Linked DNA regions of Homo sapiens: all the other regions are linked to region 1. Evidence: promoter capture Hi-C in 16 types of primary human blood cells and fetal thymus (Javierre and others, 2016). All regions are on one chromosome and are shown on one strand. Each heading gives the region's core, a stretch centred on a gene start or on the middle of the fragment in contact. The rest is flanking DNA. Distances are from core to core; before and after follow the strand shown.

Region 1 (4,249 bases), core at 1,750-4,249:
TGCTATTGCACTCCAGCCTGGGCGACAGAGCAAGACTCCATCTCAAAAGAAAGAAACAAAGAAAATTTTGCAATCATTTGCATACTATTTTGCTTAATTTTAAATTTAAAAATAAAGTTTGCATGAAGCATAAAACATTTTAAAAGAATGTCTTAGAAAACCAGATGTTACCAATGACAGCAAAGAAAATTAGAAAACGCTACACAATACATATGCTATTGTACTAACTGTGAGTCTGTCCTTTTCATACAAACTATGAGTAAATTTCCTATCCTAGACCAGTGACTCTCAACCACAGGTGATTTTGCCCCTCAGGGGATATTGGTTGCAATAACTAAGGGAGTCCTACTGGCATCTAGTGGGTAGAGGCCAGGGATGCAGCTAAATATCCTACAATGCACGAGACAATCCCACCCAAAGAATTCTCCAGCCCAAAAGTCCAGTGCTGAGGTTGGGAGACCCTGGCCTAGACTAACAATAAAGAATTACTGAATCTCATTTCTCACCTCCCAGTTCATGTATTTTTAAATGCCCCAAATAAACTTCTAAATCGATAAAATGTCATTACGAAATAATCATTTGTTTTCCTTTGCATATCATTATTTAAGTCAAACCACCTCTAGCCAGGCCCCTGACAGAAAATAAAAATGATTTTCAATATGGTAACTGCCTTGGACTTTCTATTTATTATTACAACTTCCTAGATATAAAACTTTGTCAAAAACAGAATTACTTCAACTTATATGTAAATAGCCAATGGTCTAACACTTCATACAAATTTTCCTTGGAACATGTAAGTTTCACTGAGATAAAAAAAGAGCTATCTAAATGGATGACAAAAATATTCTGCATCAAATTGTTTGTATTTCCAACTCTGACAGTATGGCTATCACTTGGCATGCAGCACAACCCACTTTATTGCTCTACTACAGAAAGTTTAAAAGATAAACTATTAGCTCAAAGGCTGGAATTAATATTGTTAAAAATTTACATTTTAACTGTTCTGACTCCTAGTCTCTAAATAATTTCTTTAGTAACCTTTTTTTCATAAATATGGCTAAAAACCACTTTCCCCTACTCAGTTATGTTTATTAATGTTTCATTTGCCTAGGATAAACTCTTCACATCTCAAATATAAAGCTTTTTGTTGGAACTTAGAGGATTTACTCTTCAGAACAACTCGTACTACATGGAATTATGGAAAGCCCAGTGTTTCCCTACAAATAAAATTTACGTAATTTGGAGAGGCATTATTGCTATATCTACACCATCTCTGGGCCCTCTCCCGACGCTTTTCTGAAAAACAAAAAACAAAACAAAACAAACAAAAAAAAAACAAACAAAAAACCACGCTGACTGTTCAGAGCTATCAGTGAAGTCTGATGACTCATCTCATGCAGAGGCACGATGTGAATGTCGACAGAAGATCAGTATCCTCCCTCTTCTATTCACCATTCTCCCTGAAACACCGGATTTGGCACAGAGAGTAGGGCTAATGTCTCTGAAAAAATAGCTCAGCTTTCCATCAAAGGCTGGCACACTTACCCTTGTGTCAACTCAGCTAGAATGGCTTCGAGAACAACCAGTGACTATGGTTTATTTTTACAGAAAAGTTCTCTCCTATATGGTGGGCACGCACTCAGTCTCTTCCTCTTTTAATCCATGCTGCTACCAGTGGACAAATTAATCTTCCAAGCATAGATTTCTTTAGGCAATTACCTGAAACCTAAAACTGTTTCTTGGCAATCCACAGGAAAAACCCAAACCCACTGGCAAGAGATGCCAGTTTCCCAGCAACTTAGACCCAATATACCTCCTAGGCCTTATGTCCCACAACCATATCCTAAATATGTGCTTTTAGATGTCTCCTGATCTACCTGAAAGGCTTTTTCCCAAATCCTCTGACCCTTAAACAACCTCTGCCTCTGAAGAGCCACAACAGCATTCATTTATCTGGCCCTAAATCAACCGCCTCTGCAGTTGATTTACGTTTAGTTATATTCTCAGCAGCCCCGCCTAGACAGTAAACCTCAATTATCAGATTGTGTATTACCTCTCGTTTCATCTCCACAACACCTAACATACTTGTCATATAACGAAGGGACTCAAGTAATACTTTCAAGTTTGGATGATACACCTTTTGGAAAGCATCTCTTGAAAGGCATTCCATGAAAAGTTTATGCAATATTCCATGCATTTTTTTTTTTGTTCAGTATTTCAACACAAGGCCAAAGTCTAAACATTTCACACAACATACAGGAAAAAGAAAAACTAAGTATCTCTGATTAAGCATAATCGTACATGCCTGAGAAAGACCGATAGTAAGAAAAACAAAACAGAGAAGTGGTTTAGAGATATAATGACAGACACACCCGGGTTGGAATCCTGACTCTGCTGTGTGACCTTGGGCAAGTCATTGAACTAATCTGCAAATCCAATACTCGCTTATCAAATCGGAAACTGAAAACTGATGTGGGAAGGATTAAAAGGCGACATGCATGCAAAGCGTTAACTGCACGGCTCGTAACATGGTAAGTGCTTAGTACATGTTAGCTGTCACTCTTATTAAAAGGAAGGAGACCAGCAAAAGTAACCGCTGTGAATCTGACCCGGTCCTCTAGTTTCAGAGCATTTCCTAGGAGCTAAACTCAGAACACAAGGAGGATGGAGAGGATGGGTTTCCTGTTCTTAATAGCAAATGCTCCCCCCGACACCCTGGCTCACGGCTCGGGGCAACAGAGCAGCGAAGAAAGCGCCGCGACTCCATCGCTGGCCGAGGGCCGACGTGAAGCAGCTTTCCGGTGCGGCCCTGCTGGGCTGGCTCGCCAGGCTTGGCGCCCCCACGCCCGCCTCCCAGGCCCAGCTGCACCGCTAGCGGCTCCGAGCCTCGCCCCACTCCCGACTACAGGGAACTACTCCGGGCGGTTACCAGGCAGGAGCGGCAGGTGGTTGCCCATGTTGTGCGCAGCGTCCTGCTGATCTCCTTCGCCGGCCATGTCTGTTTACCCGCAAAGGAGGCTGGGACAGGGCGGTGCCGAAGACTCCGAGGGAGGGCCCGTGTCGCGCGGCTGCCGCGCACCGGGGCCACAGCGCCCCCTGGCGGCCCCAGGGGAGCAGACGGCGGCGCGTACCCAAGCCTGAAAGTGATGGCCTAGGCGGGAGGGACAATTACAGGCCTGCGCTCCGTCCCGGGGACAGAACGCCGTCCCCTGCCATCCACGGCTGAGTGCCCGGCGTACACGCTGCAGAGCCCTCACTTTGTTCCAGCCCTTAGCATGACTTATTTAATCCTGATATTTTGCATATGGAGAAACTGAGGCTGAGAGCCTTTAGTCTCCACCTTGTTTTTAAACGAAGGGGGCAGGGAGCAAATAGAAACCTGTTCATGCAGCATTAGTTTCAATTCTTAAAATAAGAAGCATATATGTGAAGGCTGGGGAAATCCATCAGTTATTCCGAGGGTGGTTGAATTATTGCTGATTTTCTTCAGTAGTTTCAATGTATGTACATACAACTTCAATAACTTCAGTAGTTTCCATATATGTACATTACATTCCAAAATTAACAAGTATTAATCAGAAACATACTTGAAATGATGATTGCACAGAATGGAAAACGCCTTATAATTGGTAAATAAAATTGTCTGAATATAAACTAGCCTACTCATTATGACTTCAGCTATGTAAAAACAAGTCACTGTGGCAAAAAAGAAAGACTATGTAAAAAATGAAGATAATTCTGTTATAATGGTGGAGTTGTGACTGGTAAGATATTTGTTTTGGAGGGAGGACAAAAGTTTTCGTAGTGTATTTCAGTATCACTTTTTCAGCGAGGAAGGAAAACTGAAAAATCCTTAAATGAAATACAACATCTAAACATGGTAGTGGTGGTGGTGGGCGGAGGCTGAGAGGAAGCAGCAGCATTGCTCAACAGAAAAGTCATGGATCTGAGATTTGAAAAAATGATTTCAGAAAATTTGCCTCCCTGATAAGTTACAAGCAGAAAACTCCCTTGTGACAGAGGCTTGTGAATCATTCCTGTGTCATTTTGCCTCCTGTCTCCGAATCAGTCTGTGGTCTTCGTCAAATCACTTATGGCTGCGGGCCTCAATTCGCCCATTTGCAAAATAAGAACGAACCAAATAGTGTCGCCTATTTGTTCCAGTTAATAATGTCTGCAACATGAATCATAGCATCACCTTTTACGATGAGGTTAATAACAATTACATATACTACGTAATGATTTAACG
Region 2 (4,076 bases), core at 1,393-3,892, 870 kb after region 1:
TTTCATTCAGAAGCCTATGATCTTAGCTACTAAGTAATATTCCATTTCCTATAATTATCATCTCACCATATGATTACAATTATTTTTATTCAAACCTTTTCCATTCTTCAAGTCTGGGCTCAAATGCTACTTTTTTTCACAAAACTTTCTCTAACCCCCAGAAAGACCCATACTCGCCATCAGCATCCTCTGCATTGGTCATATAGAATCAATCACATAGGGGAAGGAGACTCAGTAACAAACATTTAATAGCATATACGGTATGCAGGCACTGCCACAGTCAAAAGCTTATGTTAGTCTTACAACTACCCTGAGAAAAATACATTCATATCTGTTTTGAAAAGTAAAATGCCTTGAGCAGAGTCTTATGGCTCAAAGTGGCAGAACCAGAATTTAAACCCAGGTCTGCTTGATTGCAGAGCCCAAGGCATTTCCACAAACTAACTATGAGCTCTTCATTATGCCCTTGGACTAAATAATTCCCCCTGTTATAAGTCCTCATAGCACCATGTGCTTCTTTATAGCCCCCACCCCAGTTATAATTTCATCTATGTTTGTGTGATTAATTTTAATTTCCTTTTTTAGGCCCTAACTCCATGTACAAATGACCATATCTCTTTTTGCTCTACAAAATCCCCAACACTTGACAAATACAGTAGTCATGGACCTTATACAAGTATATTTGAATAAATGCACAAACCATGTACATTTCATTGCATACATTTAATACATAAATAGAGCCCTTCCCTGCTAGATTCTAATTTCTCTGAGGCAGGTTACCAACCTAATTTATTTCTGGATCCCTCATGATGTTCTGCACTTCATAGGAACTCAATAAACATTTACTGGATAAATTTTGCTTATCAGTCTGTCTGTACCATTTGAAACTCTGTAACATCCAAGGCTTCTAAGTAGGCCTTGGATTTAATTATAGAATAAGATGACCACAGAAGAGTTTTCTAACCTAACAGATATAGATTTGAAAGCCATGGGGAGCATGAAACCCATGTCACAAAAGTGTATCAGTCAAAATAAGTTAAGCTATGCTGCTATGATAAACACAGCAGCTTAAAGAAAAGGTTTGTTTCTCACTTGCACTACACAGACATTGCAGGCTGTCTGAGGTCATTGTTCTACATCATCCTAACTCCAGGACCTAAGCTAACAGAGCATTTCCAGTTGCCATGGCAGAAGGAAAATGGGGCAAAGGCAAATAATTCAATAGCTCTCACAGCTTTTACTGGAGGTAATGCTGTATCACTTCTTCTCGTATTTCACTGTCTATGTCTACCTTCAAGAAAGTGATGAAATGCCCTCTTACTCCACAGCAGGGAGCTCATGCCAAAATATTTGCTGGATGGCACTAATGACCACCACCACAACAGACTGCGTAGGAGAAAACACTGAGAAATTGAAATGGGAGAATTCCCTGACACCCCTTGCTGAACGTGAGACAGGGATGTGACTCATCTGTTCAGTAACCACTGCTCCTCAAACCCCTTATGTGAGGGGAGCATGCAGACAGGTAGGTTCAGGAGCCAGAGTAAGCACCCCTGGGCTCCAGCCCCAGGGCAGCATTCAGGGTTGAGAGCCTGCAACTCCCAAAGCCCAAATGGGCTGTGTTACAGTGTACTCTTTCAGCCTTGCCATTCGCGGGCAGCTTATCTGTTAACCAGCTCAGTGAATTCTCTGCCTTTTCACAATGGCAGAGGGCCAGTGTGACAGCTTTCTGTACCCAAGCTCTCGTCCAACATCCCAGAAGAGTCAGGTCACATACAGACTTGAAGGATGAATGTGGGGGTATTATTGAGTGGTGGAAATTGCTCTCAATGAGACGAATGGGGAGCTGGAAGGGGGATGGAGTGGGAAGATGTTCTTCCCCTGGAGTTTGGCCATCCAGTAGCCAATCTCCTCTCTGACCATCCCCAGCCAAACTTCTCTCAGCATTCGGATGGCCCTTCTCTTCTCTCTCCCACGCCATTCTGCCACTTGTCTACTCTTCTCCTTGTCTGCTTCTGGAGCCTGCAGTCTGGGGTTTACATGGGTACAGGATAGGGGCTGTGGTGAGCCAAAAGGCAGCTTTTGGGCATGAAAACAGGAATGCCTGTCTCCATTTAGGGGCATGAGTATCCTGGCTTGATAGTGGGGCACTTGCCAGGGAACCACCCTTTTCTACCCAGTATTTCCCTATCTCCTGTCCGTTCTAAATGATCCATTTAGAACCTGACCTACTTTCCGAAAAAAAAAATACATCTCCAAGGCAATCTATTGTTATAAAATCACTGAAATTGCTAGAGTCTTTCCCTAGACTTTTGAGCAGTTGCTTTCTGGGTCTCAATGTCCTTATCTGTAAAATGGGAATAAAAATAGAATTTCAGAGGGGCTTTGAAAATTGTCATGATGGCCAGGTGTAGTGGCTCATGCCTGTAATCCCAGCATTTTGGGAGGCTGAGGTGGGTGGATTGTTTGAGTCCAGGAGTTCAAGACCAGCCTGGGCAACATAGCAAGACCCCGTCTCCACTAAAAATACAAAAAATTCGTCAGGTGTGTTGGCACACACCTGTACTGCCAGCTACTCAGGAGGCTGAGGTGGGAGAATCACCTGAGCCTGGGAGGTGGAGGCTGCAGTGAGCCGAGATCATGCCACTGCACTCCACTTCAGCCTGGGCAACCAGAGTGAGACCCTGTCTCAAAAAAAAAAAAAAAAAAGAAAGAAAAAAGAAAAGAAAAAGAAAAAGAAAAAGAAAAATGTAATGATGTACATGAAAGCACCCATCATAGGGCCTGGCACAAACAGTTGATCACTAAATATTAGCCTTCTAAGAAACATAATCTTCAAATCCAAGTATGGGCTTTAGAAATGTAAGAAAATTTAATTCCTCCAAATATATTAATAAGTGAGAGAAAACTACGCACTCACCCTCTAAACTTGACGTTTTATTTTGCTGATATTGTTGATTGTCTACCCGCTAAAATGACTTGCTGCGCACAACTACCCACATATCCCTGCAATGCGAGTACTCAAGTAATTTGAACAGGGCTAAATATACTACATTCTAAGGCAAAAAAAAGAAAAAAAAAAAGGGTGGGGAAAGGAAAGCAGTGGAAGAAAGCTCCTAAAACAACTGGAAACTACCTGTTCCTCCCAGGCAGAACCAACCACCCCATCCAATAGGCTATACAAGTTACCACAGTTTTTCTACCCTTCTGCTTTATTTCCTATCTCCACATCCCTCCTGAGCATAGGGCCTGGTGCAGGATCACAGTGTTGTACATTCCTACGTTCTTTTCTTTGTAACTAAGTCACAGGACAAAGAGCCCCAAGAAAGTGGTTTTGTCCAGTGATGCACAGCCTTCCTGCTCCTCTACTGTCCACACTCGCTCAAGTGTGCGATCCAAGGAGCTGTAAAGGAAAAAAATCCCCAAATTAAATATTATTGTATTCCCACTCCTACTTATGCCTCCATACAGATGTTCTACAGGCAAGGGGAGAAGCACATGTTAAAGTTGTAACGTTTCTAAATAGACGTACCATGTAAATGCCTAAGAGAGAGAAGGCTCCCACTTTTTTCCTCCCTCCTACCATCTTTGACAGTCCTCAAGGACAAGTCTCAATTCCAGGACACTAGCCATGCCTGTTAGCAGAGGGGCTATTAGGCAATAAAATATCACCACTTACATGTTCACTTCTGTCTTCTCTCCTTTTCATGCCACTGGATCATAAGAATGTAGACTGGTTTGCACATCGGAAAAGACCTGGCTGTCTGATCAGTTTGCTTTTCTTCCTTCTTTTCTACCCCTGCAGCCTAAGTGGTAAACCGGTCTGAGTAAGGTCAGTACTGCACTTTAGATTATGAGTGACGTAAACCAAGAAAGTATCAACTAACAACCATAGGGCACTTTGATTCTCAAAATGGTTTTGGTTCTCTGTCTTACTCTATCTTCATAGCAACCTGTACTTGTTTCCTAAGGCTGCCATATCACCATGCCAAAGCTGGTTGGCTTAAAACAACAGAAATTTATTGTCTCATAGCTCTGGAGGCTAACAAGTCCAAGATCAAGGCACCAGAAAATCT
Region 3 (3,843 bases), core at 199-2,698, 800 kb after region 1:
GTTCTGACATCTCTGAACTCCAGACTTAGAATCAACAGTTCTATTTCTGGGTCTCCCAGGCCGCTCAAACTTAACATGTGCAAATGTAAACATCTACCCCCCATCCTTCCCACTACAGACTTGTTCCTCCCTGCTTGTTCTCTATCTACTAGATGGAACTATCATCTTACCAGTGTCAGCCTTGAATTGGTATCTTTTCTTTACTCTTTCCCTACAGCCAACCATCAGTAAGACCTCCTAAGTGTATCTCGAAAACATCTATCCACTTTCTCTGACCCCACCTTAGTCCAAGCCACCAACATCTTGTTCCTGGACTGCCTCCTAACCTCTCTCTCTGTTCTGATTTTTCCACTTCCAGTTCATTTGCCACACAGTAGCCAGAGTGATCTTTTAAAGACATTCCGTTTACAATAAAATCCAAACCCCTCACCATTGCCTATAAGATCAGGCATTATTTGTCCGCTTACTTCTCTAATCTCATGGCGTGCCACCTTCTTCCTTGACCCCTCTGCTCCTGGTATACTGAACTCTCTAAATTCTCAAAACATACCACGCTTTTTCTAGTGCAGGACCTTTGTACATGCTGCTCCCACTGTCAGGAGTGCTCTTTTCATTGTGAAAGGCTGGTTCCTTTTATAATTCCGGGCTCATGTTATATGTCACTTCTAAAAAAGAGGCCTTTCCTGATCACTCATCTCAATGACATATTTTTTTTAATTTAATCTTTCAATTTCAATTAATCTTTAATATTTCAGAAAGTATATCAACATTGCCTAACATGCTGTTTTACACACAATAGATACATGATCAATGTTTGATATAAATATACATATCTTTAAAATCTTTGGTTTAACCAGCTAAACTTTTAATATTTTATGAACTAGTTAGCCCTGAGTCATAAATTTACCTACTTTTTTTTTTTTTTTTTTTGAGATAGTTTCACTCTCTTTGCCCATGCTGGAGAGCAGTGACGTGATCTCAGCTCACTGCAACCTCCAACTCCCAGGTTCAAGAGATTCTCCTGCCTCAGCCTCTCAAGTAGCTGGGATTACAGGCACCTGCCACCACACCCAGCTAATTTTTGTATTTTTAGTAGAGACAGGGTTTTGCCATGTTGGCCAGGCTGGTCTCGAACTCCTGACCTCAGGTGATCCACCCGCCTCACCCTCCCAAAGTGTTGGGATTACAGGCACAAGTCAGCATGCCCGGCCAGATTTACTTATTTTTTATGAGATTTAAAACTGTTTTTAGAGATAGAGTCCTGCTATGTTGTCCAGGCTGGAGTGAAGTAGCTATTCACAGGCATGATCATTGCACACTACAGTGTTGAACTTCTGGGTTCAAGTGATCTTCCGACCTCAGCCTCCCAAGTAGCTGGGACTACAGGCATGTGCCACTGAGTCCGGTGTATTTTTATAAGATTTTTAAAAAGATAACATATTCTAAATTATGACGTCCACATACCATTTACTTTTGTGTGGAATTATAAGGTGATATTTTAAATGATGGGAATGAACAAGTTGACATGTATATCAGTAACCTCTAAACATCTATTTCAAACATCTATTAACTGAAAGTGATGATTCCTCCAGCTCTTATACTAAGAACTTCCATACATTAGAGCAATATACATATTCAAAAAGTGACCTAGTTCAATTAGACAAGTAAATAATTTTCCTATGTTTAGGTAAATTTGAAAAATATACATAATTACTACCTCATCCTAGTTAGAATCTCATTTATATTTATTCCACTATGTTCATGATTTTGTAACCAACTTGGAAGGCATCGTATTATTAAAAGTGTATCAGATTAGCTCCCTCAACTTACTATGTCTAGTAACCATTCTGAAGAAATAGGCACTGGCTTTGAATATGGCCTGTTCCAGTTTGTGAACAGTCGTAGGCAAGTAAAGTTGTTGGGCAAAGAGGTGAGCTATAGGATGACTGAGGGTAAATTGTCACTACTGTATATAAAGAAGACAAATGAGATATAGGAAGAGATCTGTTATAATAACATATATGACATATATCTAAGTTTTTCATATATTTCAGAATTATAGAAAAAAAAGTATGTAATCTTTTCTAAGATGTATGGATGACTTACTTTTAATAATATTTCTTGATTTATAATGTAAATAAGATTAAGCGAATATGGGTTACTCTTGAATTTAAAAATTGGCACATGTAAATGAGCATTTTAATACAAATAATTAGAATATATTTATACTGTATACACAGCTACACAACGGAAGATACTACTAAAATTTTGCTCTATAGCACATTACCCTAGAAAACATAGAATTCTAGAATTCTCTTTAAAAAGATCACTGAGAATTATTAGATGATGACTGTGAAATAGGTTCTCCCAGTACAATACTACTTCTGTCATTCAAAGTTCTGACAACAGTTGTAGCTGAAGACTGAAGCACTTTATGAGAAAGCCTCATTCTTCCATCAGCTGGGTCACATCCAAAGTATTTCACCTGAATTTCTTGGCCAACTTCTAATCCTAGGGCAGTAGGATGTTTAATATTTCATTGATCAAGTTGTGTGTTATAAAGCAGTACCAAAATCATATTTGGATATAATTTTACCATTACACCAGTATCTCTGCTTTCAGTTATTGTGGCAGTACACACTGCTCCAAATTCTAATTGCTGCTCCTGATCATCCTTGCGGATTTCAGCAATGAAGTCTCTTGCCTCATGCATAGCACCGGGTGTTGGTGCAAATATAGAAAACGTTTCTTCATCCACCTGACTAATAGTTACAACTGTTTCAGCCTGAAGTTTTTTAAGTTATATCCACCTGGTCCAACAAATTTTTCTCATTTTGATAATGGAACCTGAACAGTTTCTACAACAGGTCCATTTTCTTTTCTAGATGCTTGAGGTTTTGAAATAGCTTTGTTCATGATCTGTAAAATCTCCTTTTTGCCACTGAAGCTTGTTGAATAGCCTCCATTACAATTTTCATTGTTATTCCAGGTAATTTAATATCTGCCTGTAATGCAGTTATTCCTTTATTAGTGCCAGCTATTTTGAAGTCCATGTCACCATTGTAAGCTTCAATTCCCAGAATATCTGTTAGCAAATGATAATCTTCTATTTCACCCTTCTCAAGATCGGTTTTGGTGGCCAATCCCATTGCTACACCTGTGACAGCAGATTAAATTGGAAGCCCTGAATCCATTAATGCTAAACTTCCACCACATGCAGATGCCATAGAAGATGACCCATTTGACTCTAGGACTTCAGATGTAACTCTTATGGCAAAAGGAAAATCTTTGGGAATAACAGGATACAAAGCTTTCTCAGCAAGAGCATCAGGCCCAAGTTCTCTTCTATTTATACCGGTGACTTTGACAATTTCATTAGTTGCATAAGGAGGAAACTCATAGTGCAGCATGAAATTTTTATCTTTTATCCCATTTATAGTTGTTATAACTCGATCCAACTTAATACTGGATTCTAATGAATCAAATGTAACAGCACAAAGCAGCTGTGTTTGTCCTCTTTGAAATAATTCTGATCCATGAAGGGTTTTAAACATATCTACCTCACAACTTATATTCCGAAGTAAAGTCAAATCCCGACCATCGCATCTTTTGTATTCATTCAAAATAATACTTCTAAAAACTTTCTTTGCAACAGTATTGAAGGATTCTATTATCTCATATAGATCGACCTCTGGAAATATTTCTTTTAGTTGTTCCTCTGTATCTAATCTTATTTTGTTAACAGCTTCATCTCTGGAAATTTTATCATGTTCATAATCTGTAAAAACTGCATAGAGTCTCTCCATAGTGAGTTTATGAGCATGTTTCACAATCTCTTGTGAA
Region 4 (4,251 bases), core at 380-2,879, 850 kb after region 1:
TAGGAGTAAGAGCAGTTGCCTATGACGTTCTCTGAACCTCCTGCTCCAGGCGACTGAGCCAGGAGATACCTAAGGGGCTTGTCAACACCTAATGCTGTCTCTCCTTCTCCTTGGCTCCAAACACTGTTCTGGGTATTGCCTCGCTGGGCCTGGCTAAAGCTCTGTCTTCTGAAGTGAAGGTTGACCTTTTATTAAATACTAACCCTACAAGAAAAGTAGAATAAACTAGTCCCATTGTAACTTGCCAAGATTAATACATCCATAGAATTGGGGCAGGAGATAACACCGAATGTGTACTACAGACTAGATATTGTTAAGTAGTATATTTCTAATTTAATCTTTAATCTTTATAATAAGCCTATGTAATAGATAGGCACTATGATTATTGCCAATTTACAGATGTGGAAACTGTGGGTTAGAGAAATAAGGTAACTTTCCCATAGACTTATAGCTATTAAGTGACAGAGGTAGGATTTAGAGATAGGTAGATCCACTTGAGTCCAGAGCTTATAGAGGTACCTACCTTACCAACAGGACGGCTTTTTGGAATTCATTTCGATAAAAAAAAAATCAAGTTGGATATGACGGACTTGATCATTTCTTCTGCCTGAGATGCCTAACACATCTAAAAGAGCTGTACGTTAGTTCATGTTATTGAAAAGCAGCCACCAAGACAGGCTAGATGTCACTATTTCTGAGCCTCCTTCTACTCCTCTTGTTTTTTTCCTTTTTTAGGAGGGAAAGACTGGCGGAAAGAGAAATACACAAACCTCAGAAGGGAGCAGACAATTCACACATTTCTACAGTTTAACCTTCAGTGCCAGTAAGTGTCAGGTAGTAGAGCTTCAGGTATGCCCCAAAAGTCTCCTTGCAAGGAACTGAGAAACCTGGAACATTTCTGCGTTTATGCTTATCCACCTATTTCTATCCTCTAAATTCATTTGATATCTGCTCTTCCTTTCAAAGGTAATTCAGATCACACCATAGCACCACGGACCATAAATCATTCTGAACAGAACTCTGTTTCTGGGGCACATCAATGTTCATTCAAGGGATCGTGCTTTAGAAACTAACCACCAATATGTATTTCAGTAATCTACTCCAATACTTATAATGTGACACAAAGAACAATCTTCAGCCTTCACCACTTCCTCAACACCACATTTTGCTCAGCTTTCCAGAACTGCCTTTGGAATCTCATCTTATAGGAGGGAGCTTATATGCACCAGAAAAGATAATGAGCAATCCTGTTTACCAGAAACTCATCTAGGAAAACAGCTAAGGAAAGAGGATGAAGCTTATTAATAAGCCCCAATTCTCAGCTTTGACTGCGTTAGATATATCAAGTTCACTGGAACCTTACTAGGTATCCTAGTCTCAGCCACTGTATTTCTCAGGTCTGGGACATATCTCTGAGCCTTTCCCCTATGCTGATGTTGGTTTATCAGGTAGTGCCTGCCAACAGCCTATGGCTCATGCTAAAAATAATTGAGAGTTGCTCAATTATTTCTAGAGAGGCAGCTGGTGTAGTGGAAAGAACACTGACTGATAATAACAGCTATTGTTTACTCACTTCATGCAAGACATTTTACAAGCATTATCTCCATTCTGCTGATAACCTAAGGAAATAGGTATGATTGCCCCCATTTTTTACCTGAGTCAGTTAAAGATTAGAGAATATCCATGATTTACCCAAGGCCTCAAGTTTATTGTCCAACAGATCCATGATGTGAATTGAACTCTCTCTCTGATTCCATATAATTCTGATGTATCATTACTGCCTCCAAATAGAAGGCAGAAAACTTGGTCAGAGTCCTAGAATTGCCACCTGGGTGGCCTATAACAAACCTTAATTTCACTCTGGATCTTAATTAGCTCAGCTACAGAATGGAAATAATGCTATTGAGTCTTAGGTGAGGATGCAGTCCTAAGAGTCAAATAGCCTGGGTTAAAACCTAGTCCCAAGCTTACCAGATGCATGACCTTGAAGAAGTAAATTAGCTTTACTTTTAACATGGAAATAATAGCAACAACTACCCCAATAGATATTGAGTAGATTAAACAAATTAAAACATGCCAAATGTATTAGTCAGGGTTCTCTAGAGGGACAGAGCTAATGGAATATATATATGTATGTATGTATGTATATATATATACACATACATACATATATATACATACATATATATACACATACATATATATATACACATACATATATATATATAGAGGGAGAGGAGTATGTGTGTGTGTGTGTGTGTGTGTGTGTATATAATATATATATAATATATATATATAAAATATATATAATATATGAATATACCTTGCATTTATATATGAAAAAAACAGAATGTATTAGCCTGTTTTCACTCTACTGATAAAGACATACCCAAGACTGGGTAATTTATAAAGAAAAAGAGGTTTCATGGACTCACAGTTCCACATGTCTGGGAGGCCTCACAATCATGGCACAAGAGCAAGGAAGAACAAACGGACATCTTACATAGAGGCCAGCAAAGAGAGAATGAAAGCCAAGCGAAAAGCGTTTCCCCCTATAAAACCATCAGACCTCGTGAGTCTTATTCACTACCACAAGACCAGTGTGGGGGAACTCACCCCCCATGATTCAATTACCTCCCACCAGGTCCCTCCCACAACATGTGGGGATTATGGGAGCTACAATTCAAGATGAGATTTGGGTAGGGACACAGAGAAACCAAATCACAGAGCCACCAGGTGATAGTCTGCAAACTCCTTGTTTTAAAATTATTTTCTCCTTTGCCTGGCCTAGAGGTATGGAGGCTCTATTATCATAGCATCCAGATGGACATAGGAGAGCAGCCTGAATGCCAAGATGTCTGGTATCAGATAGCTCAGTTAAAGGCAAAGTATGGAAATTACTAAGAGCAGGAAAAAAAAGATACAAATATTTTCATCTGATAAGAGAAGATTACAGTGATCACAGAGTGTAGTGGTTTGGCATCAGGCTGCCAAGAGTGAAATTCCAACAAGTTTGCTTATCAGTGTCTCAGTTTCCTTGTCTGTAAGCTCCGCCTGTTAATAGTGTCTACCTACAGGGTCACTAAGTAAGGTATTTATCACAGGGTAAGTATTAAATAGGTAATAGATGTAACCCTATGAGGTATTCTATATATCTGCTGAGGTAAATTCTTGTTCCTAATAATGTTTCCTCCAACTTCCTGTGAGTTTCGGCGGTGAGAAAGTTAGAATGGAAAAGGTCTGAAATTGAGAGAAAGTTGCGAAATGAGCAATAAGATGGTGTTCGTGCCCTACGTCAAAAAGACTTGGTCAGAAACATACATCTTTGAGACAGACTTGAGAGCTCTTGTTTGGCTCTCTGACCTTCTGTGGGAAATTAAATCTCCCAAGTTGTTAAATCCAAGCCAGTCTTTTTCTCCTTTTCAGTTTTCCAAGGTCATAAACACAGAAAAGGGATTCCTGGCCCTGGTACTAGAGCTCATCTTATAAGCCCAATGTAGTATAGTTCTAAACTAAGCATATTCTATAAGCAAAGTCCCTAGATTTGTTTCCTGGCTTCACCACTTACCATCAATTGGACCCTCGGCAAGTTATTTAACCTCACTAGGCCTCTCTTTTATCATCTGTAAAATGGGAACAATGAAATAGAGACACTGAGAAAATTCAGTGAGACAATGAATATGTGATAGGCAGAACAATGTCCCCGTCCCCCAAAAAAGTCTACGTCCTAATTCCCAGAACCTGTAAACACGTCATATTACATAGCAAAAGGGATGCTGAAAGTGAAATTAAGGTTTCAGATCTTTAAATAGGGAGATTGTCCTGGATTATCCGGGTAGACACAATCTAACCACATGGGCTCTTAAAAGTGGAAGAAGCAGCAGAAAAGTCAGAGAAGTGGCCAGAGAGTTCCAAAGCATGAGAGGGATTCAACCCACACTTGTTGGCTCTGAGGACTGAGGAAGGTGGCCACAGGTAAGTGGGTGGCCTCTAGAAGCTAGAAACAGTACTCAGTTGACAGTCAGCAAGGAAACAGGGACTTCAGACCTGTAACAGCAAATAACTGAATTCTGCCAACAACTTGAATTAGCAGGAGTCAGATTCTACCCTAGAGCCTCCAGAAAGGAATACAGTCCTCGTAACACCTGGATTTAATCCAACAAGACCTGTGTTGGACTTCTGACCTACTGAACTATGAGGTAGATTTTTGTTGTGTCAAGCTCTAAGGCTGTGGTAATTTGTTATGGCAGC
Region 5 (4,158 bases), core at 862-3,361, 970 kb after region 1:
ATTTCCTCTGGAACACCAAGGGGACAAATGGCCTTCACACCTGAAGTCCAATGTACAGCCTGCTTCGTCACACTTCAACAGAGGATTAACGTCTGGTGGGGGCCTCATCTTTTAGAATCGCTGTTCTCAAGAAACAGTGTAGCACAGTCTGTCAGTCTAGGGGTTTCATGCAACAGAGAACAAGCAAACACATGACTATACACACACACATACATGCAAATATATATTTAAACACATATAAGGAAATGTATAATGAATATAAATATATATATCAACATATAATAGATAAACATTAAAATATAGATATTTATACATGTAAATATGGAGTGCTGCTGCTAGTCTGGGGTGCTTCTCCCTACAGGGAAGAAGAAAAACATAAATATACATACACAATATATATATATACATGTGTGTATATATATGTATATATATGTATATGTATATATGTATATATGTGTATACATGTGTATATATGTATATATGTATACATGTGTATATATGTATATATGTATATATGTGTATATATACGTATATATGTGTATATGTATACGTATATATGTATATATGTGTATATATATGTGTGTGTATATACACACACACACACACACACACACACACACACATGCAAGTATATAGAGCAGAGGTGTCGAAACTTTTGGCTTCCCTGGACCACACTGGAAGAAGAAGAATTGATTTGGGCCACACACAAAATATGCTAATAATAGCTGATGAGCTAAAAAAAAAAAAAATCACAAAAAAATCTCATAATGTTTTAAGAAAGTTTATGAATCTGTGTTGGGCCACATTCAAAGCCAACCTGGGCTATATGCAGCCTGTGGGCCATGGGTTAGACAAGCTTGATATAGAGAAAAGATGCACTGGGACAGGTACGACAACTCCAGGCATAACTGACCTTCCCATGTAAGCATGGTAAATAGCCATTTCTATCATCTCAAAATTCTCCTGTACTTGCTGGATGGTTTCTGAAATCCTGCTAATGGGAAACAATGACCTTTGTTCCCCAATTCAGTTCAAGTATTAATATGATGAAAATACAAGCATTCATAATGTAACCTCACATCAATATCTAAATAACCAATATTCCCGAGACCAGACTATGGGCCATAAAGGTTAATAAAGATTAGGATCATACAGAAGCACTACACTGGGGAAGGGAGCAGTGCAAAGAACACAGAACTGGAAAAATTTTAATGTTTGAAATGAACTTAGAAATTTGCCTGGCACAAAGCAGTGAGAGATAGGAAAGGGTTTATTCAAGAAGTCACTTTCTGGACAGTCTAGAAGAGCAGTCTGGATTTTGTTTGTTTATTTGTTTTTTGAAACAGGGTCTCGCTCTGTTGCCCAAGCTGGAGAGCAGTGGTGCAATCTCAGCTCACTGCAACCTCCACCTCCCAGGCTGAAGCAATCCTCCCACCTCAGCCACCCGAGTAGCTAGAACTACAGGCACAGGCCCCAACACCCGGATTTGCTTTTTTTTTTTCTTTTTCTTTTTCTGATGTCTCGTCATAGTGTCCAGGCTGGTCTCAAACTCCTGGGCTCAAGTGATCCTCCCTCCTCAGCCTCCCACAGTGCTGGGATTACAGGCATGAGCCACCGTGCCTGGCCCAGTGTGGTTTCTAAAACAGAAGTGACAGTATGTGGATCAGCTCCATAACTTATCTCATACATGAGCTTCAATACAAATAACTTACTTCTATAAATCAAACTGTCTACACTTGGCTAGACCAATGCTTCATGCAGCCCAAGGCTGTCCTGAGGCTAGTAACAACCATTAATTCAGCCCACCTTCTGCACCCAACCCCACCTCTCAAACAAAACCCCAGACACTTAACTCCAAAAGCGCTATTGAGTAATATCATTGTTACTGATGGACTCATGGATAGACAGAAGAAAACATTTTCAGAATACCTTATACATCCCTAGTCTCTCTCCCTGGCAGAGATATTTGGTATCTGGTCAGCTTGCAGTCTCCACCCAACACAATAAAAGCTAGTTGTTTGGCATAAGCTAAGCAAAAAGCCTGGTCCTAAACCAAGCCCTATTCTTCTGAGAACTGCAAGCGAGCTCTCAGAACCCTGCAAAGTTACAGCTACAATCACTTCTGATCCTCAAAAAGTTTAATGGATACATATATCAAAACATCATGTTGTACACCGTAAATACATACAATAAAATTTTTAAAAAATTGAGCAGAAACATATATTTGATCAATTACTTGAGGATTTTCTTTTTTTTCTTTTTTAGAGACAGGATGTAACTCTGTTGCCCAGGCTGGAATGCAGTAAGCAATCATAGCTCACTGCAGCCTCGAACTCCTGGAATCAGCAATTCTGCCACTTTAACCTCTCAAGTAGCTAGAACTACAGGCACATGCCACTATGCCGAGCTAATTTTTTATTTTTATTTTTTGTAGAGTTAGGATCTTCCTATATTGCCCCAGCTGGTCTTGAATGCCTGGCCTCAAGCAATCCTCCCATGTTGGCTTCCCAAAGTGCTGAGATTACAGGTGTGAGCCACAATGCCCCGCCTTGTAGGTTTTTTTTTTTTTTACTGTATTTCCAGTTTTTCCACTGTTCAATGACAGAGGAACTCCTTATAAATAAAAAATATATTCAAGCCCTAAAAAATATTAACTTTCTTATTTACCATTTTCATTTTCACTTTTTGCCTATGGATTTCAGTTAAAAACTGGTGTTATTTCCTTATTTCAACATAACTACATTACCATTCACCTCCTTTGTATAGTTATTGTAAAACATATTCCATTTCTGTATGTTGTATTCAGCAACATGATTGTATAGAAATTATTGTTGCCTACAATTGCTTTTAGAATAATTTAATATAAAATTTTTTAAAGAAATATATTTTTAAGTCTGTTAGGAGGCAGGGAGGTCAAGTTCCATCTTTATCTTACTGAGGAAATTGGAGCTTAGGTTAGGACTCCCGCCTAAGGCATCAGATCTGTTTGCACAATTTGGACAACAATCCACCCATTCATTCCTTCAACTTGCAAAGAGTCAGGCAGTTGGGGCTAGTGACCCAAGTCTAGTTGAACACTGTAACATGGACTATGGCAGAATTAAATGGAATGGCATGGCACCAAACCTAGACTGAGATGTCCAGAAAGGTTTCTCAGAGGAGGAGGTGACTCCTGAGCTACATGTGGTAGAATGTGTGGAGGTATCCAGGAAGTGGGGCAGAGCTACTCCAGAAAGAACTGGCAGCATGGAGAAAGGCATGATGGTGGATTCTGGGTCTGAATTACAGTGTTTTTATTCTCCTTCACAACCATCACATAAAGTGACTCTAATCCTGGGGAAACTAACCTCACCAGGAACCCACTAGGAAGCTTTCCACCCATCAATGGAATTTCATTCATTTTTCATTTATTCACTTAAAATTTAAAGAATTACCACTCCAGCATGAATAATAAGATAGTTAACACTTATTGGGCACCAACTATGTTCCAGTCACTTTGCATACATTATTTCATCTGATCCTTGCCACAAACCTACAAGCTGGGGACTATTATCTCTGTTTTATAGATGAATAAATGAGTTTCATTGCCATTAAGTGAGTTATCAAAGGTCACATAGCTATGAAGTAACTGAAACAGAATTCAACCTCTCGTTGATCTGTCCCCCAAACCTGGGCTCTTTTGAGGCATCCACACTGCCTCATTCATCTATTCAAAAAAATATTTCTTGATTGCCTACTGTGTGCCCTCTGCTGAAGAAAACAGGTCCATAGACTGATAATTTTTAAATAAGAGTTTTTCTAAGAACTGCATTGTAGGAGGAAAGATGAGGATGCTCACCAGCCAATATCTGGGCAACCACCGCATCCCACTTCCAGAATACATCAAAATTACAGCTTTTTTTGATATATGACTGCAACTTGAAGTAAGACCCTCTCTGAAAATTGTCATATGGTCAGCAAGGAAGGAGATCACTGTAAACTCAGGTAAGGGAAAACTGCTGGGGCTCAGCAGAGAAAGGAGATGTACCTTTTAGTTTTATGTTGGCAGACTTCAAAAAGGCAATTTGAAAGGAACATAGGTGACATTCATTCAAAGGGGTGCACAGGGTTTGCTGAGGAAGACATTAGGGACCTATCATCTTGTTGAGACATCAACCT
Region 6 (3,664 bases), core at 38-2,537, 830 kb after region 1:
TCATTTTCTCCCTATGCACTTCTGAATGGCTTGGATTTTGTTACAATGAGTATGTACTGTTTTTATAATTAGAAAAATGATATTCCTATTAGAAAAGGAAGATAAAGAGACTAATTCTTCACTATGTTTTCCAAATTTTAATATTACTTATATCAGAGATTATTTTAAGATATTTTAAACTACTCAGTGTAGTAGAAACAATACTGGACCTACAAGCCAGTCTTCAGTTGTGAGTTCCAGCTCTCTGTTTTTCCTATCTGAGCCTCAGCTGTCTTCATACACAAAATGAGTGGCTGTATTTACTGACTCACAAAGTCCCTACTAGTACTCACATTTCATAATTCTAACTGGAAATAAATACACCAGGCATTCAATCCTGTCTTATGCAATATGGCCTAAAATGAGGCCCACAAACTGCTATAATCCAAAGACAAGTGGACTCTTGGAAGAGCTGAATTACATAATAGAATAAGTTTCTATCATAGATCCCCAGGGAATGAGTCTTTTTTATACACTTACCGTCAGAAGTTCTGTCAAAAATTCTACAATCATCTCCAGCCCCAACATACACAATTTACTAGACAGGAAATTGAGGCCACAGAGGCAAAGGGACTTGTACAAAATCTCACAGCTAATGAGTAGAAAATTCAGGATTACAAATATTTAATCATTTCTGGGCTGGGTGTAATGCTTCTTAGATCTTAGAGTTCAGGCTAAACATGTGATAGGTTCAAAACAATGCTTTGACCGTCCCCCACAGCCCTACACCAAATGAATTTCTTTATGATATCCTCCACAGCCCGATCCACATCTCTGAAACTGAAACACATTAAAAGGAAAAGATTTTTGAAGAAGTATAATTTCCATTTCCTTTTTCCACCCACATATGTGCAGGCACACTGATATAAAAAGGGACTTTAAAAAATTTGTGGAATCTTAAGCAAAAAGAACAAAGTCAGAGGTGTCACATTACCCAACTTCAAACTGTACCATAAGGCTACAATAACCAAAATGGCATGGTACTGGTACAAAAACAGACACATAGACCAATGGAACAGATAAGATAACCCAGAAATAATACTGCACACCTACAGCCATCTAATCTTCGACAAAGGCAACAAAAATAAGCAATAGGGAAAGGACCCCCTATTCAATAAAAGGTGTTGGAATAAATGGCTAGCCATATGCAGAAGAATGAAACTGGACCCCTACCTTTCACCATATGTAAAAATTAACTCAAGATGGATTAAAGATTTAAGTGTAAGACCTAAAGATTTAAATAAAAGAATCCTAGAGGAAAACCTAGGAAATACAATTTTGGACATCAGCTTTGGGAAAGAATTTGACTAAGTCCTCAAAGCAATTGTAATAAAAATGAAAATTAACAAGTGGGACCTAATTAAACTAAAGGGCTTCTACACAGCAAAAGAAACTATCAACAGAGTAAATAGACAACCTACAGAATGGGAGAAAATATTCCCATAATATGTATCTGACAAAGATCTAATATCCAGACTCTACAAGGAACTTAATTCAACAAGCAAAAAAATAATAATAATAACATCATTAAAAAGTGGGAAAAGGACATGAACAGACACATCTCAAAAGAAGACATACAAGTGGCCAACAAACATATGAAAAAACGCTCAACATCACTAATTATCAGAGAAATGCAAACCGAAACCACAAAGAGGCACCATCTTACACCAGTCAGAATGGCTATTATTAAAAAATCATAAAACAACAGATGCTGGTGAGGCTGTGGAGAAAAGAGAATGCTTATACATTGTTGGTGGGAATATAAATTACTTCAGCCAATGTGAAAAGCAGTTTGGAGGTTTATCAGAGACCTTAGAACAGAACTTAAAATTTAAAACATTCAAACCAGCAATCCAATTACTGGCTACATATCCAAAAGAAAATAAATTGTTCTACCAAAAAGACACATGCATTTATATGTTCATCACAGCCCTAGTCACAATAGTAAAGACATGGACTCAACCTAGGTTCCCATCAACAGTGGATCAGATAAAGCAATGGTCCCCAACCTTTTTGACACCAGGGACTGGTTTTGCAGAAGACAATTTTTCCCCATATGGAGGTGGGGAGGGGAGGTGGGGAAATGGTTTCAGGATGAAACTGTTTTACCTCAGATCATCAGGCATTAGATTCTCATAAGGAACATGCAGCCTAGGTCCTTCTCACGTGCAGTTCACAATAGGGTTTGCACTACTATGAGAATCTAATGCCATGGCTGATCTGACAGGAGGCAGAGCTCAGGTGGTAATGCTCACCTGCCCACCACTCACCTCATGCTGTGCGGCCCAGTTCCTAACAGCCCATGGACTGGTACCAGTCTGGGGCCCAGGGGCTGGGGACCCCTTGGGTACAGAAAATGTAGTATATATATGCCATGAAATACTACACAGCCATAGCAAAGAATGAAATCATGTCCTTTGTAGCAACATGGATGCAGCTGGAGGCCATTATCCTAAGTGAATTAACAGAGGAACATAAAACCAAATACTGCATGTTCTCACTTACAAGTGGGAGCTAAACATTGGGTACTCATGGACATAAAAATGGCAACAATAGAAACTGGGAACTACTACATGGGGAAAGGAGGAAAGTGAGGAAAGGGGCAAAAAATTATGGGGTGCTATGGTCACTACCTGGGTGATGGGATCATTCAGACCTCAAACCTCAGCATCACATAGTAAACCCACGTAACAAATCTAAAACCATTTTTCTGGAAAAATGGAATTAAAAGATAAAAATAAAAAATATAAACTTTATTTCTCTATACCATCACCATCAAATTCATGACATTTTTTTAAGTGATGATACTAGCCATTTAGCCATCCCTAAAGGACTGAGGGTCCTGGTAAGTTAACCATGTCTATACAGTCTTTCTACTTGTTAATAAAATAAAATGAGTGTCTTTTAAAGGTTTCTTAAGATTAGAAAACAAAAAGAAGTCAGAAGAAGTCAAATCAGGACGGTAAGGTGGATACCTAATGAGTTCCCATCAAAACTCCTGCAAAATTGCCCTAGTTTGTTGAGAAGCATGAGCAGGAGCATTGTTGTGGTGGAGAAGGTCTCTCTGGTGATGTTTTCCAAGGTGGTGGTGTGCTAAAGCTTTGGCTAACTTTCTCAAAACACTCCTAAGAAGAAGATGTTATCATTCTTTGGTCCTCCAGAAAGTCAACAAGCAAAATGCCTTGAACATCCAAAGAAACTACTGCCATGACCTATGCTCTTGACAGTTCTGCTTTTCCTTTGACTGGACCATTTCTATCCCTTTGTAGCCATTGTTTCGAATGTGCTTTATCTTCAGCATTGTATCAGTAAAACCATGTTCCATTTTCTGTTACAATTCTTCAAATAAATGCTCCAGGATCTTGATCACACTTGTTTAAAATTTCCATTGAAAGCTCTGCTCTTGTCTGCAGCTGAGCTGAGCACAAAAGTTTGGCACCCATCCAGTAGAAAGCTTGTTCAACTTTAATTTTTCAAACAGAATGTGGTTGGAACCACTATCTATGGTGTATACTATTGTTTGTGTTGTTAATCCTTGGTCCTCTTCAATGAGGGCATGAACAAGATGAATTTTTTTCTTCCAAGTTGATAGGGATGGCCTGCCACTGCAGGCTTCATCCTCAAA

The links. The method cuts DNA at HindIII sites, captures the fragments that hold promoters and counts their contacts. A CHiCAGO score of 5 or more calls a contact.
Region 2: a fragment that was not itself captured here is called in contact with the fragment with the promoter of CRBN in region 1 in 2 of 17 cell types (M2 macrophages and M1 macrophages); the score reaches 6.5 in M2 macrophages.
Region 3: a contact is called between a fragment that was not itself captured here and the fragment with the promoter of CRBN in region 1, in 1 of 17 cell types (M2 macrophages). The highest score is 5.2, in M2 macrophages.
Region 4: a contact is called between a fragment that was not itself captured here and the fragment with the promoter of CRBN in region 1, in 1 of 17 cell types (M2 macrophages). The highest score is 6.9, in M2 macrophages.
Region 5: a contact is called between a fragment that was not itself captured here and the fragment with the promoter of CRBN in region 1, in 2 of 17 cell types (M2 macrophages and M1 macrophages). The highest score is 7.1, in M2 macrophages.
Region 6: a contact is called between a fragment that was not itself captured here and the fragment with the promoter of CRBN in region 1, in 2 of 17 cell types (M1 macrophages and M2 macrophages). The highest score is 8.2, in M1 macrophages.

What each region holds. Positions count from the first base shown.
Region 1 is chr3:3,176,692-3,180,940 of GRCh38, forward strand. It overlaps CRBN (cereblon), which reads right to left and starts at 3,000. Exons shown (of 11, transcript NM_016302.4): 1 at 2,930-3,000. The coding sequence starts at 2,996. RefSeq lists a silencer at 3,064-3,233. The HindIII fragment of the contact is 7,719 bases long and covers 1,139-4,249 here.
Region 2 is chr3:4,048,058-4,052,133 of GRCh38, forward strand. It overlaps a transcript of SUMF1 not described here. Among named protein-coding and RNA genes, the nearest start is that of LRRN1, 250 kb to the left of the region's middle. The HindIII fragment of the contact is 4,715 bases long and covers 286-4,076 here.
Region 3 is chr3:3,979,646-3,983,488 of GRCh38, forward strand. It overlaps the pseudogene PNPT1P1. Among named protein-coding and RNA genes, the nearest start is that of LRRN1, 180 kb to the left of the region's middle. The HindIII fragment of the contact is 2,993 bases long and covers 1-2,945 here.
Region 4 is chr3:4,029,303-4,033,553 of GRCh38, forward strand. The region is part of intron 2 of LOC102723512 (a long non-coding RNA gene); the gene reads left to right. Among named protein-coding and RNA genes, the nearest start is that of LRRN1, 230 kb to the left of the region's middle. The HindIII fragment of the contact is 669 bases long and covers 1,296-1,964 here.
Region 5 is chr3:4,150,967-4,155,124 of GRCh38, forward strand. It overlaps a transcript of SUMF1 not described here. Among named protein-coding and RNA genes, the nearest start is that of SETMAR, 150 kb to the right of the region's middle. The HindIII fragment of the contact is 2,514 bases long and covers 855-3,368 here.
Region 6 is chr3:4,010,965-4,014,628 of GRCh38, forward strand. All of the region lies in intron 1 of LOC102723512 (a long non-coding RNA gene), which reads left to right. Among named protein-coding and RNA genes, the nearest start is that of LRRN1, 210 kb to the left of the region's middle. The HindIII fragment of the contact is 3,697 bases long and covers 1-3,136 here.